Regions from separate parts of the Homo sapiens genome. Here region 1 is linked to region 2. Evidence: promoter capture Hi-C in 16 types of primary human blood cells and fetal thymus (Javierre and others, 2016). All regions are on one chromosome and are shown on one strand. The core of a region is centred on a gene start or on the middle of the fragment in contact, and the rest is flanking DNA. Distances in the headings are between cores, read along the strand shown.

Region 1 (6,729 bases), core at 3,421-5,920, 520 kb after region 2:
CCTATTTAGGTGCAGAGACCTGATAACTGATGGGTTATGACAGCAAAATTAATTTGGACCATGAACATCATTAAAACTGCATATCCAAACAATTTTATTACTGACTGGTTTAGAACAAAAATCTGGCAAAGTATTTTCTTGGTATTCAACTAATTTTTTGTGCTCCTTCAGTTAGCAGTTTATAAACAAATAAGTCTCTTCATTAACATTCTGGGAATTTTTACCTAGCCCAAATGATAAGATCATAAAGTTACCAGCAACCTGTATTCAATAGTGCTTGTCGGCTGCTCCCAAATTCAAGAAAAAATGAATTGTCTTACCTGCCACATTCAGTGTTGCCCAAGGCTCTGTCTCTTTGATGATGATGTCAGATTTGGAGACAGTTGGAACAGAGGGCCCGTTCAGCTCAAAGCCATTACTGGAGTCTTTTGGCTCTTGGGACAGTCCTTTTTCTAGTGTCTGGGCTGATAGTAGAGGGGGCAGGCCTTGTAGGGCTTTCTCCCATTTAGCCCATCAAGGCGGTTTACCTTCCAGTGGCCTGGCATTACGCACCAATGGCAATTCCCTGGGAGGGAATTTTTAGGGCAACCTCTAGAGGGCTGGTAGACTTGTAAAGCAGCCAATAATTGAACGTGTCTCCTGTCTTTCCATTGCTCCTTCTCTTTGGCCCCTTTCTTTTCATCTTGATCTCAGTTATAAAAAACTGAGGAGGCCAATTTGAGGATTTCTGACATAGGGCATTAGGTCCCAAAGCTAGCCTTTGCAATTTTCTCCTAATATCTGAAGCAGCTTGGGTAAGGAAGTGGTCTTTTAGGACTAATTGGCCTTCTGGGGATCCTGGGTCTAGGTTTGCATGTTTGATAAGAGTTTCCTAGAGAATCTCAAGAAAGGCTGTGGGGTTTTCATTTGGCCCTCAGTCTATGGTGGCTAACTTATAATTTTCAGGTTTAACTTTACTCCTTTTTATTCCCTCTATTAGGTATAGTAGCATATGCTTTCTGGCCCATATTCCTACTGGGTATTATAATTCCAACTGGGATCCTCATAGGGAACAACTGTAGCTCCTATGGGGTAGTTGACATTTGCCAAGTGCAGGTCATCCTTGCAACAGAGTGCTGCCTCACAGGTATTTTTTTTTTTTCTTATGAGAGAGTTTGTCCTAAGAGGATGCTTATATCCCTCCAGGTAAGCTCAAAAGTAAGAGTTAATTTACAGAAACCCTCTATGAATTTCTCGGGATAATCCATAATTTTCCCAGGTCTTCCTTAACTTGAGAAAGGTCCTGCATAGAAAAGGGAACTTGGACTGTGACTGGCCTGTTGGTCCACTTACCACTTGTAATGGGCAGAGTCTGGAGAGTGGGTTAGAGGGCCCAGTGTAAGGCAGGGCTGACTTGATAGTCTTGATAGTAGGATATGTAGGGGAAGGAGTTGGGGTGTCTGTTTCTCGTATTTGCTCTTGGATGGGGGAGGCTGAGGAATCTTTGGTGGAGGGCTCTGGAGCAGACAATGGAGCATAGCCAGGATGGTTTTCTCTATTCTACAGGCCTTACAAAGATCAGAGTTTTCCCTCAGGGCCATGAAGGCTTGCAAGTAGGGGATCTCTGACAATTTGCCCTGACTTCAGCAGAAAGAGTCAAATGGTGGATGGTATTAAAATCCAAACTTCCTACTTCTGGCCAGGCTTCCTGGTCTGATAGTTCATAGGATAGAGGAGATATCACCCCACTTATTCCTATGATAACCCATAAAGGTGAGGCATTCCTTGCCTTTGCCTAGGTAAGGCACCCTGTGCCTCTACCTATTACCCATAAAGGTGAATCATCCCTTACCTTTGAGGGGCTCCAGAATCAGCATAGGGCTCCAGATGCCCAGTCCCTTAGGTCCCCCTTTTAATCACATAAGCAACAAAGGAAGCCCCAGGAGTATTTTCTGTCTGATTTCTCAACAAACAACAAGAAGCACCTGAGGGCTTCATGGTTTGGCAATAATGGCCTTATAAGACAAAAAAAAAAAAAAAGAAAAACCTCCCCAAGGCCCATAAGAGACCCTAGATGTAAAGAGATACGGAAGAATGAGTAAGAGGGCCGCAGATGGCTGTCCAGAGCAGTTGGACGGCCTGTTTAAGGAACCATAAAGTGAAGTGTTTTAGAAGAGTATTCAACTGGAGAAGGACTGATAGTAAATAAAGGATGCCTTTAAATGAGGATCGTGCCAGTTTTGGCCCCAGTAGTGAGAAAGGAGGTAAGAGAAAGGGTGAAGGTGAACTGCATTCGTGGGGAAAAAATAAATATACAGTTCAAAGGAGGCATATAGGGAATTTCAACTCCCAGCAGTAATGTAAACACAGCATGACCCAGAAGAGCAGGCCCTGCAAGGGGTTTGCATGTGGAGGAGGTATTCAAGAAAGCCCCTCCATGGGCAAAGAGACAGCAATGAGTAGGTGGACTGATTTGTGATATTGATTACCTGCAGGGGCATATTTTGTCTGGGAAATAAAATGGAGTAAAAGGGAAGGAAAATAGCCAACTCAAAGGAATATGGTAGTTTTAGTTAAAATATATAGAATTCTCTAGTCATTGCATGGCCTAGGCCATTCCCCGCCAACAGGTCAAGCCTCCTGTCAGGGAGAATTACGGTAACTTAGATCTGCATGATGTGGTCTTTAAGTCCTCCCACCTCCACTTGCCACCTTTCTGGGTGAGCTGAAAAATCAGCCAGAGGGAGCAAAAGTTACTGTAATTGAAGGGAATTGTACTGGGGAGTTGAAAGTGAGCAGGAGAAGGAAAGCCTCATTTTAAAGTAGCAAGAATTGCGTTAGAATTAGAATAGTAAAGAGGAAAAAATGTCAAACTCTATAAAATATTTGAAGAGATTTATTCTGAGGAAAATATGAGTTACCATGGCCCCTGGCACAGCCCTCATGAGACCCTGACAACATATGCCCACTTGGTCAGGGTGAAGCTTGGTTTTATACATTTTAGGGAGTCATGAGACATCAATCAAATACATTTAAGATATGCATTAGTTTGGTCCAGAAAGCCAAGACTACTCGAAGTGGGGGCTTCCAGGTTATAGGCAAATTTAAAATTTTTTTCTGATTGGCAATTGGTTGAAAGAGTTATTATCAATGGAAAGGAATGTCTGGGTTATGACAAGAGGCTGTGGAGACAAAAGTTTTATCATGCAGATGAAGCCTACAGGTAGCTGACTTCAAAAACAATAGATTGTAAATGCTTCTTATCAGACTTAAGGTCTGTGTTGATGTTAAATGCTTGTCAGCTTTTCTTGAAATCCAAAAGGGAGGAGGGCATAATGAGGCATGTCCAACCCCGCTTCCCATCATGGCCTGAACCAGTTTTTCAGGTTAAATTTAGAGTGCCTTGGCTGAGGAGGGAGTTCATTCAGATGGTGGGGAGGGGGAGGGCTTCAAATTTTATTTTTGGATTACGTAGGAAGAAGCAGAGGCAGTCTAATGGGGGTCTGAAATTTCTCCTGGCACTTACCTCAGAGAACCCTGCTTGGACTAGGCAAAGTCCTGGGTTTCAGCACCAAGGAATATTACTGAGGAGAGCTGATGTCCCAGTACTTCTCTAAACTTAGAAGAAAGATTTCAACCAACAGATAGCACAAAGATAGCAGAGGACTTTATTGAAAAGAAATATAGTGTGAAAAGCATATTGCAGGAAAAATTAAGTACACTCCAAGGAAGGAGCAGGCTGATCCTGCAAAAAACAGCGCTGAGGGTCCCGTGCAGGGAGTTTTATCATGTCAGATTTCTTCAAATTCCCTCCTCTGTCTCAAGTCCCCACCTCTGTCCTTTGTCTAGTTTTCACACGCCTGCCATAAGTCCCTACATGCCTGGGTAGTCTCTACACAGGCTTGTGGGAGCCGCTCTTACTGTTGGTTAATGAGCATGCACGAGCAGGTGATTAACACAAATCCTTCCTGATGGAGGCCCTGCTCATTACTGCCAACCCAGGAAGGTTGTAGAATGGTCAAATCCATACCTATTGCAAATGAATATCTACTTGGAATTTCCTTCTCTGTGCTAATCTGTACTTGTGGTGCCAGGTTTCTCATAGGAATGTCCCTTTTGTCCTTATCAGCATGTAGCTAACAATATTCTGACATTTTAACTGGAGAGTGAATGATTATTAAGAGTTCGTGAATCTGTGCCTTTATGCAAGATAAAAAGCTCTCCTAGTACTTTAAGATGGCTTTTCAATGTAGATAAATAATTGGTCTGCATGAAATGCTGAGACTTTAGAGGCTTCTCTTTGTATTTTTAACATTGTCAAAGTCAAAAGGTAGTTTTCCCCTATGGAAAATTGTGATTTAACTGAAAAAGGAATTTGTAAGTTGCATAAAAAAAGATGCTCTGTGAATCTTCTCATTTGGACTGAAAACAATAATAATCCAATTAACCTGTAAATGCTACACATGGAGGAGCCTTTTCACATTAAAAGACCTTGTGAATGCTGAGCCATCTAAGATGTTTTCCTCTTACACCTAAAAGCTGCTTTTAAGAGATGCCAACTCTTAAGTGGCATCTTAAGAGGCATTCCTGGGTGTTTCTTTCTGTGTAGGTAACTCCTCTTCTTCTCACTCACATTTGACTAAGTGCCCACCCACTCCAGCATTAGAGATGTTATTAATATGAAAATTTTGGGTGCCCCCTCGGGCGTGAGCCTTCCAAGACATTTTTTCTTTTTTTCTACTAGGAGTTTCCCCTCCTGTTCATATCTAGCTATCTACATGCTCTAACACTTTGATATGAATTTTTAATTAATGCTTTTTACTTTAATAGATTTCACACATATTAAAATTTTTATTAGGATACAGCTCTTTAAGTTTTATATATTAAGCAAGAGTCGATTTCAATTCATGATTTTGCATTTTAATCAAGAATGCAACAAAAAAGTTCCATAATTGAACATAAACCTTGCTTGTAGACTATTTGGCAACTATAAATTCATTAACATTCATTTTTCTCTGAAGCGTCCTTTCCAGTATTTTTGTTAATACTGTAATATGACTCATTAACTATGAAAGGTTGAAAACATTGTATTACTGATAGACACGCTGAGAATCACTAGTTCAAATGGTTGTTTGCTTAAAAGACTATATGGCCATAGATACCTAGGTAAATAGAAAAAAGTAAGGAAATAATCATATATATTCATATTCATATATGTATATATGGAAAAGGAATAAATAAATAAGTTTAAGAGAAAGTAATATCATAATAGCATTTATTCTTTGGAGTATAGCTAGAAATACTTTCTTACATTTTCAGATCTTTGGTCATTTTAAGTAGGACTAATCTTCCATATATTATAGTTCAGTTTGACAAAATATATATGAATAAAAGAGATTTTGATAAAGAGTGATGATGACATTAAATGAAGAAGTGTTTAATTTACATCATGTCCAGTCCTCCAACTTACAGGGTTCAAGTTGTTCGGTAAAGCATGTAAACCCAAAAAGGAAAGTTTTAGTTGGTAAGAAACAGGAATGATTTTTATTATTGACTGACTTTGTAGCCTCCTCTCTTTAGATGTGAGCTACACATTTCTACTCTTCTGGAACCAGGGAATCCATCCTTAAGTTGTTCCCTCATTCTCTTGGCATCTCTTAAAAGCAGCTTTTAGGTGTAAGAGGAAAACATCTTAGATGGCTCAGCATTCACAATGTCTTTTAATGTGAAAAGGCTCCTCCATGTGTAGCATTTACAGGTTAATTGGATTATTATTGTTTTCAGTCCAAATGAGAAGATTCACAGAGCATCTTTTTTTATGCAACTTACAAATTCCTTTTTCAGCTAAATCACAATTTTCCATAGGGGAAAACTACCTTTTGACTTTGATAATGTTAAAAATACAAAGAGAAGCCTCTAAAGTCTCAGCAATTCATGCAGACCAATTATTTATCTACATTGAAAAGCCATCTTAAAGTACTAGGAGGGCTTTTTATCTTGCATAAAGGCACAGATTCATGAACTCTGAGTCACAAAAGGCTTTGGAGCTCGTCTAGTTCAGAGGTTGGCAAACTTTTTCCATAAAGGACCAGATTGTAAATATTGTAGGCTTTGCAGGCCAAGAGGCAATGTCCTCAATTCTTGAAGCAACTGTTCTCATTCGTGGACTAATAGGCTTTTTTACATTTTAGTAATAAAAATGTAAAATACATTCTATGCTCTTGGGTCATACAAAAATAGGTGGTGAAATGGATTTGGCCCATTGGGCGTAGTTTGCCAGCCCCTCAAACTAACCCACTCTTTCTTAAACTGGGCTGTATTTACTTGTGCTTGTTAAAAATACCTAGATAATCTGGCTTCTTTACTTGGCATTAAATCGCAGACAAACATTATTATTCTGAAGCTTTCTCAAAGCAAACCTGTAGGGAAATATACAATGTACAATGATGGAGATAGTTTACAGACAAAGGAGGACCATTGAGGATTCAAGTTCCCTAAGTAGTGAGCTTTATTTCCTTTAGAAGGTAAATGGCTCCTTGCCATTTTCTCCTTCCCTCTCCTGTATCTCCCTATTTAAGCCTTAAATTCCTTAAAATTTTGCAAATTGCATGGTATAACTTTCTTTGCATGGAATTGCATCACAGATTAACATTAGTTAGATACATTTTTCCAATAAAAATTACGAGAAAAAACTCTTTATAAATTCTAATATAGGGCATTAATAGAAGCTTTTTTTTAAATTTTTACATT
Region 2 (6,649 bases), core at 3,549-6,048:
CTGGAATTCCCCACCTTCCATATCTCCCCCATTCCTCACTACCGTCAATTATTTTTCAAAGCACAAATCTAATAATGTCACTCATGTCCTCAAAAACCTTCAGTGGCTCCTATTTATGAGATAAAATTGAACCCTTAAACTGGCTTAAAAAGTCCCATTCAACCTGGGCCTAGCTTACCTTTAATACATTCCTTATCTCTCACTATATCCCCTCTCCCACATCACAGACTTACAACAGTATCAGATTCTTCCTTCTTTCAGAACATTTCCATGCCTTTTCTTATATTGTGCCCATCCACGTGAAATATGCTCCTTTCATCTGTCTGTGAAAATATTATCACTTTCTAATGCCCTGCTCAAATTCCACCTCCTTCACAAAGCCTTACCAGATCCATTCCTAAACCACCACCACCCCCACCACCACCACCACCACCCCATTGTTGATAATCTTGTGCCTTTTACAATAACAATTTCCATACATGCCTGTCTTACTACCTGAATGTAAACCTGTGGGGGTAGGGTGGGACTCTGTGGTATATTTTTAGGCATTTCACATTACAGCACTATGTACAGCACTGCCTTGTACTCAATAAATGCTTCATGAATTGAACCAATTCCTACCATGACAAGAGTTCAGAATTTTTTTAAAAAATTAAAAATTTCAATGAAACACCTCATCAGCCAGATATAATAAATGAAATTATCTGTCTCTTCTTATCCTTCCACTGTTTCTAAATATAACTTTGTATTTTATCTCTGGATCACCCTATCTGTGATTACAAACATTCACAGTGAGAGCACCACTATACTTAGATGAAATGATCAAATTTAGGAAGGGGTCTTAAGAAAAACTGCTTACGAAATGGAAGGCTGCGGCTAAGGCCATGGTTATCTGAATCCCAGGATTTTAACATAGATGACAATAGTTCAGACTTTAGGGGCATGGGAAGAGGCATGATGACTGTGGGAAAAGAGAAGGAACTATTGTGTACTAGAGACTAAGTGCAAAACATCTTGCTAAGTTTATTAAACCCAGCACTGAATTTTCTTTACATAACAACTCTTGAAGATGTTTTTTCTCCAACTTATAGACAAAGAAAGTGAGGTTCAGAGAGGTTAGGTAACGTGGATTGTGTCACATCATGAGTATGGCATGGAGCTCGGACAAGAACCCAGATTTACCTGCCTTCAAAGCTGTTCTTTCCTCTATTACTATAGGGTCTCATGAAAATTAATTAAAACTAGAAGTTTTTCCCAAATTGGTTTTATCAGTAAACTACATACTCTCAAAACTAATTTGTTTAGACAGGCATGGTTGTGAGCACCTGTAGTCCCAGCTACTCGGGAACCTGAGGCATGAGGATTGTTTGAGTCCAGGAGTTCGAGGCCAGCCTGGACAATGTACAATGACATAGAAAGACCCTGACTCAAAAAAAAAAAAAAAAAAAAAAAACTAACTTGCTTAAATAAAAACAGCATTGCTAAAGAAATAATATAAAAGTACTACACGTTTACTATGATATGAAATGTGAAAATTACATCATCAACTTGATAAAGAAGCACTTGGTTCCTCACCAAAAAACAAACAACTAAGCGAACAAACTGTAACATGCATGGCATTAAATCATGAAAAGTTCACATTAGTCAAACAGGTTGTTCTTTATGATCCTTGCCCAGGAATGACCAATACCCATCCCATCTCAAGTAAAACCTCTTTCTTGATCCTGACAGAATCCAGTCAAAAGCTTAAATTGTGACTGCGTGAGGGGTGATGCCCTTTGAAGTTCCTATTCCCAGTAGACCTCATTGAGACAGTCCCTGCAAGAGCTCTCACAATCAGTTTCTTGCTTACCCTATTTCCCCTCTTCTAAGAACTCTCTTCCCAGAAACCAAAAGATTCCAGGTTTCCCCTTTTCAGGCCCATTCTCTACCTCTCACTGGAACCAAGCTAGTTATTGGTTGAAACCTGACACATTTCACCACAGAACAATTTTACAAACAGTGGTTAGGCTCGGCATCATTATACCTCGCTATTATGTACTGATCTAAAAATATAAGTACCCTTAATAAGTTTTTCCTGTGGGAAAACATGTTAAGAGTCTCAAACAACCAATTTACACACTTCTGAATGATAATTCAAAGGTTAACAACTGTCCATGCAAGCAAGACAGGTAAAAGATACAAAAAGACTCCAAAATATATGGTAGTGTCTATAATCTTTAATCTTACCAGATTCAACACACACAGAAATGGACGGAAATTATTTCTTTTGACATTAAAGTTAACAGATTCTTACCTACATTTTCTTTAAGGATTCTAGCACATTTTAAAAATATATATTCTACAACAAAAACACTCTTAGTCCTAAAATTATCACAATTGAGGGTTGTAGAGCTTGTACTCAAAATTAGCATTTTTAAAGCCAACATCAACAAATTTGTAATTAAAATATAAATTATCAAAAGTAAACTTGTTTACTTCTTATCAAAAGAATATAATTAAAAACAAACAAACTCTTCTAAGTACTAAGTGGGTCTGTTCAAATGTAGCATTTAGTTTTCACCTATAATATTTTTTATTAAGTAACTTGCAGGGTTAAATCTAACCAATCATAACTGTTTTAGAGAAAGAAGGCAGAAATACTATCTTCACCACATTACCTTCACCTTTCGTTTTACTTCATAGGGATTAACAATTTCCACTCGAGTATTTTTCCAAATTGCTGAGGTAGAGAGACCCATTGTTAAATCTCTACAATACCTAAAACATACTGCAAACAATAAAAAAACCATATGTGGTAATTACAATTTAAAACATACTACATTCAAAGTTAACAGAAATAATAAAATAGTAGGCATGCAAAAGGATTCCCACCTCCCATCCCATCCTTATATCAAAGCATTTAACTGTTTTTATAAACTAAATGCCTATAAGTTCAGTAAGTTACATACATGAATATAACAAAGTTCCTCTCCCCTTCAATAGACTTGCTAGACAATTGTGCAAACAGTTAGCATTCCCACATTTCAACAAGAAAGGAACGCCTATTCATTTATCTTGTTCTTACGAGATGTAAAATATTAAAACGTATATTGGAATTGCTTGGTTTACTAGTAAAATATTTCCTGTAAGTATAGAGGGTTCAGATTTAGGGTACTTCTGAATTTATTTCCACTATATTCCTTACCACATGTTATTCTAGCATGTAATCTTAACCCCAGTTTAGTTGATAAATAACAAAAAAATTTAAAGAAAAAAAAACAAGGTAATCATACAACAGCCAAATGTGTATTTTTTTTAAATGGAGCAAGTACTTGAAGACAAAGTTGCACCCTTTAGATGTCGAGGATTGAGAGTCTTACCTCAAAATATCCTACTGTGAATCAATTTCACCAACTATTTTTAGGAGGTGTATGGTGGCCTCTACTGGAGTAGTACGCAGTCGATTAAGTTATCAGAAAAGGATCCAACTTTCTATCACAAAAGACACGTTTTTGTGTTTAAATGCTGCCCGCTTTTATAACAACAATAAAAACAAAGCACCTGTGTACATCTAAGTTCTCACTGCACAGCTGACCAAAGCCCAACCAGAACAGTTTCAGAGTAAGAAGAGTGGGAAGAGAGGTGAACCAAAGTATTTTGGTTGAACCTCGCTAAGTCTTACCAAAGATTCGACTTATTTATAAGGGCTGGGGTTTACTTTGCGTCTTCTTTTACAGACCAACGGGGCAGGGACAGCGGTTGTGGAAAGGAGAAGGGGTGGAGCAAGAGTGCAGTAGAATCAAGGGGACCTGAGAGGAAGCAGTAGAACATCACCTGAAACCTGGCGACTGGAGATAGGTCGCCAGTGTATCTCGACATGGGTCATTACAAGGAACCATAACAAGCCACAGAGAAACGAGAAAGCTGTTACCAGGGAACACTCGTGCCTATGTGCAAATGTCCCCAGAGTTACTTAGTCACCTTGGTGTGTTTGTTGCACTGGGTTCGTAAAGCGTCCGGGGTTCAACAGCGAGCTGGAGTCCGCAGCTGTCCCCCAAAATGTTCCCAGCCAGCAAACTAGGCGCGGCGGAGAAAAAGGGACGCGCGGAGTCAGGCACAGCACCCCGCCAGTCCCCCAGTTCCCCTTCGGGTCGGAAAGTGAAGAAACTTAGTCACAACAACTCTGGCGTGGCCCGCCAGGCAGGCGCTCCGCCCAAGGCCGAGCCCGGGCCCAGGCTGCACTCACTCCGCAAGCCCGAGCCCGCCGTCTCATCCCCGCCCGCTCCCCAGCGAAAGGGCAGTGGAGGCAGCATCAAGGGGGCTTGCCCGGGAGCCCGCTTCCCGGCCCTACGCCTCTCCTCTCTCCGTCCCCAGCCAAGGTCTTGAGGGGAAGGAGGCGGGGGTTGGCTCCAGCCCGTCTTGGCCACCACACTAACCTCGCCGCTGCTCGCGCCGCCGCCGCTGAACACTTCCATTTCTCGGTCCCAGGGCTCGTCCTGAGGAGCGAATGGTAGCATCTCCCCTTCAGGAGCACTCAAACAGGAGCTGCCGCCTACCGCTGGCGCGGCCGCGCATCCTGTCTATTGAACTGGCCCGCCGCCGCCGCCGCCGCCGCCGCCGCCGCCGCGACCCCCAGCCCCGCCTTCAGCGAGCGCTGCCCTCGCCGCCGGGTCTCTCAGAGGCTGGGAGCTGGGGGTCGCCGCCGCCGCCGCCCGGTGATTCCCATAGAGAAGACAACTCTGTGCTGCCTCTCCAAGAGCTGCCGCTCGGCTCGCGCTCACCACTGCCACCACAACGACAGCCGCTCGGTGGTGACTCCCCCAACACCCCACTTCCTCGGGTCCCCTCCCCGCTCCCTGCTCTGTCAATATGGCGGCAGCGGCGGCGTTACCTGTGCGGCGCCTGGACCCCCCCACGGCGGCGGCACAGCGGCGTCACCCAAACGTCAATGGAGATTCCCCAGCTTGGGGTGAAGGGGGCGGGATAGAGGGGCGGGGTGGATGCGGGGGACCGCGTGGTGGGTGGTGGGATAGAGGGGAGGGGGGCGTGCTGGGCTGGGGAGGCGACTGAACAGTAGTAAAAGCCCCTGCTAGCGCCTCGGTAAACCTGCCCACTCCACGGAGCATGCGCAGCGCTCTTCACACATGCTCAGCAGGCCCTCTCAAGTCCACGGAGCAGCATTGCTGGCGGGCGGCAGGATTCTCAAAAAGGATGCTGGAACTGGGGGACCCTCCAGAGCACTTGAGGAATCAGGGTAAGGGTAGGACTCCAAGAGTATCTCTTTGCAGGGCTCACGAAGAGCAGGTGTCTTATATGCCAAACCACGCCCATTTCGATACTTAGTGACAAATACTAGGGCAGGGATTTTAGTACATCATACATTATCCTCCTAGAAGGTAAAGGCAGGATAACCCCCATTTAAAAAAATAAATATACCTGTCCTCTCTAGCCCCCACCTTACTTGTCCCTCTCAGGATGCTCCTGCTGGTTGCCTTCACACTATTGATAACACACAATGTTTCTCTTCACACATGCACACACACAGGCAAACATATGCCACTTAATGAACTCCACTTGTGGCAACAAAGGCATGATTCCGAAGCTAGCCCATCCTCCAGCCCCCTCTGAGAATGTTGGGTCTGTAGTGACAATAATCATAGTTTTTAGTACCTTCTTCAAAGCGAGCTTTACTACTTCGCTACTCTAAGCCACACATTGTACTGGGAGCTGGCGATATAACAGAGATAAAGTATAATCTTATACGGGGGATAATCAAGATGCTTCTCATCAAAACACTTCAGAGCTGAAAGTTTAAAAGTTATTCCACATTTGACACTTCAAAGACTTAAAAGAGCAACTGTAACAGCGGCTAAACCAACTCAGGACCTTGGAGAGGTTTCTAACGTTCATAAAAGGCACACCACCCCCTTTACCCTTCTACACCTAGGGCTGTTGACCTATGCCCTCCATTTATTTCATCATCTGGTCTCAAGAGCTAATGAAGCAAAGCTGGCCACAGAGATTGCACTGAATTACAAACAAGGATAACTGATAATGTCCTCTCACTTACTCTGCTGAAAATCTCGAGGAGAAAGTGAGCTTAACGAACAGGGTTCTCTAAAAGTCAAAGCTTCGAAAGTAGTGGGTGCATGGGGCTATAAATCGTGAAAATGTGTGAGAGTGTGTGTGTCTGTGTGTGCACGCACACACCCATAAACTCATATTTGGCTGAACTGACAGTATTAACTAGGGCCAACTTTTTTTCTTTTTCTTTTTTTTTTTTTTTTTTTTGAGACAGAGTCTCATTCTGTTGCCCAGGCTGGAGTGCAGTGGCGCGATCTTGGCTCACTGCAACCTCTGCCTCCCGGGTTCAAGCGATTCTTCTGACTCAGCCTCCCGAGTAGCTGGGATTACAAGCGTGCGCCACCACGCCCGGCTAATTTTTGTATTTTTAGTAGAGACAGGGTTTCACCATGTTGGTCAGGCCGGTCTCGAACTCCTGACCTTGTGATCCGCCCACCTCAGCCTCTCAAAGTGCTGGGATTACAGGCCTGAGCTGCTGTGCCTGGTACTGCCAACCTTTTGAGCGCTGGGTCTCATCCATCCCTTCTTGCCTACTCAAAGGCTTTGTTCTGCAACCCGCCCCCCCACTAACATCATCTATTTT

What was found. Contacts are between HindIII fragments. The CHiCAGO score rates a contact against its expected background, and 5 or more counts as called.
Region 1: a contact is called between a fragment that was not itself captured here and the fragment with the promoter of RPS6KA6 in region 2, in 1 of 17 cell types (M1 macrophages). The highest score is 5.3, in M1 macrophages.

What each region holds. Positions count from the first base shown.
Region 1 is chrX:84,706,851-84,713,579 of GRCh38, forward strand. No RefSeq gene overlaps it. Among named protein-coding and RNA genes, the nearest start is that of HDX, 210 kb to the left of the region's middle. RefSeq lists an enhancer at 6,196-6,697. The HindIII fragment of the contact is 3,419 bases long and covers 2,962-6,380 here.
Region 2 is chrX:84,183,401-84,190,049 of GRCh38, forward strand. It overlaps RPS6KA6 (ribosomal protein S6 kinase A6), which reads right to left and starts at 4,799. Exons shown (of 22, transcript NM_014496.5): 1 at 4,419-4,799. The coding sequence starts at 4,499. The HindIII fragment of the contact is 4,367 bases long and covers 1,744-6,110 here.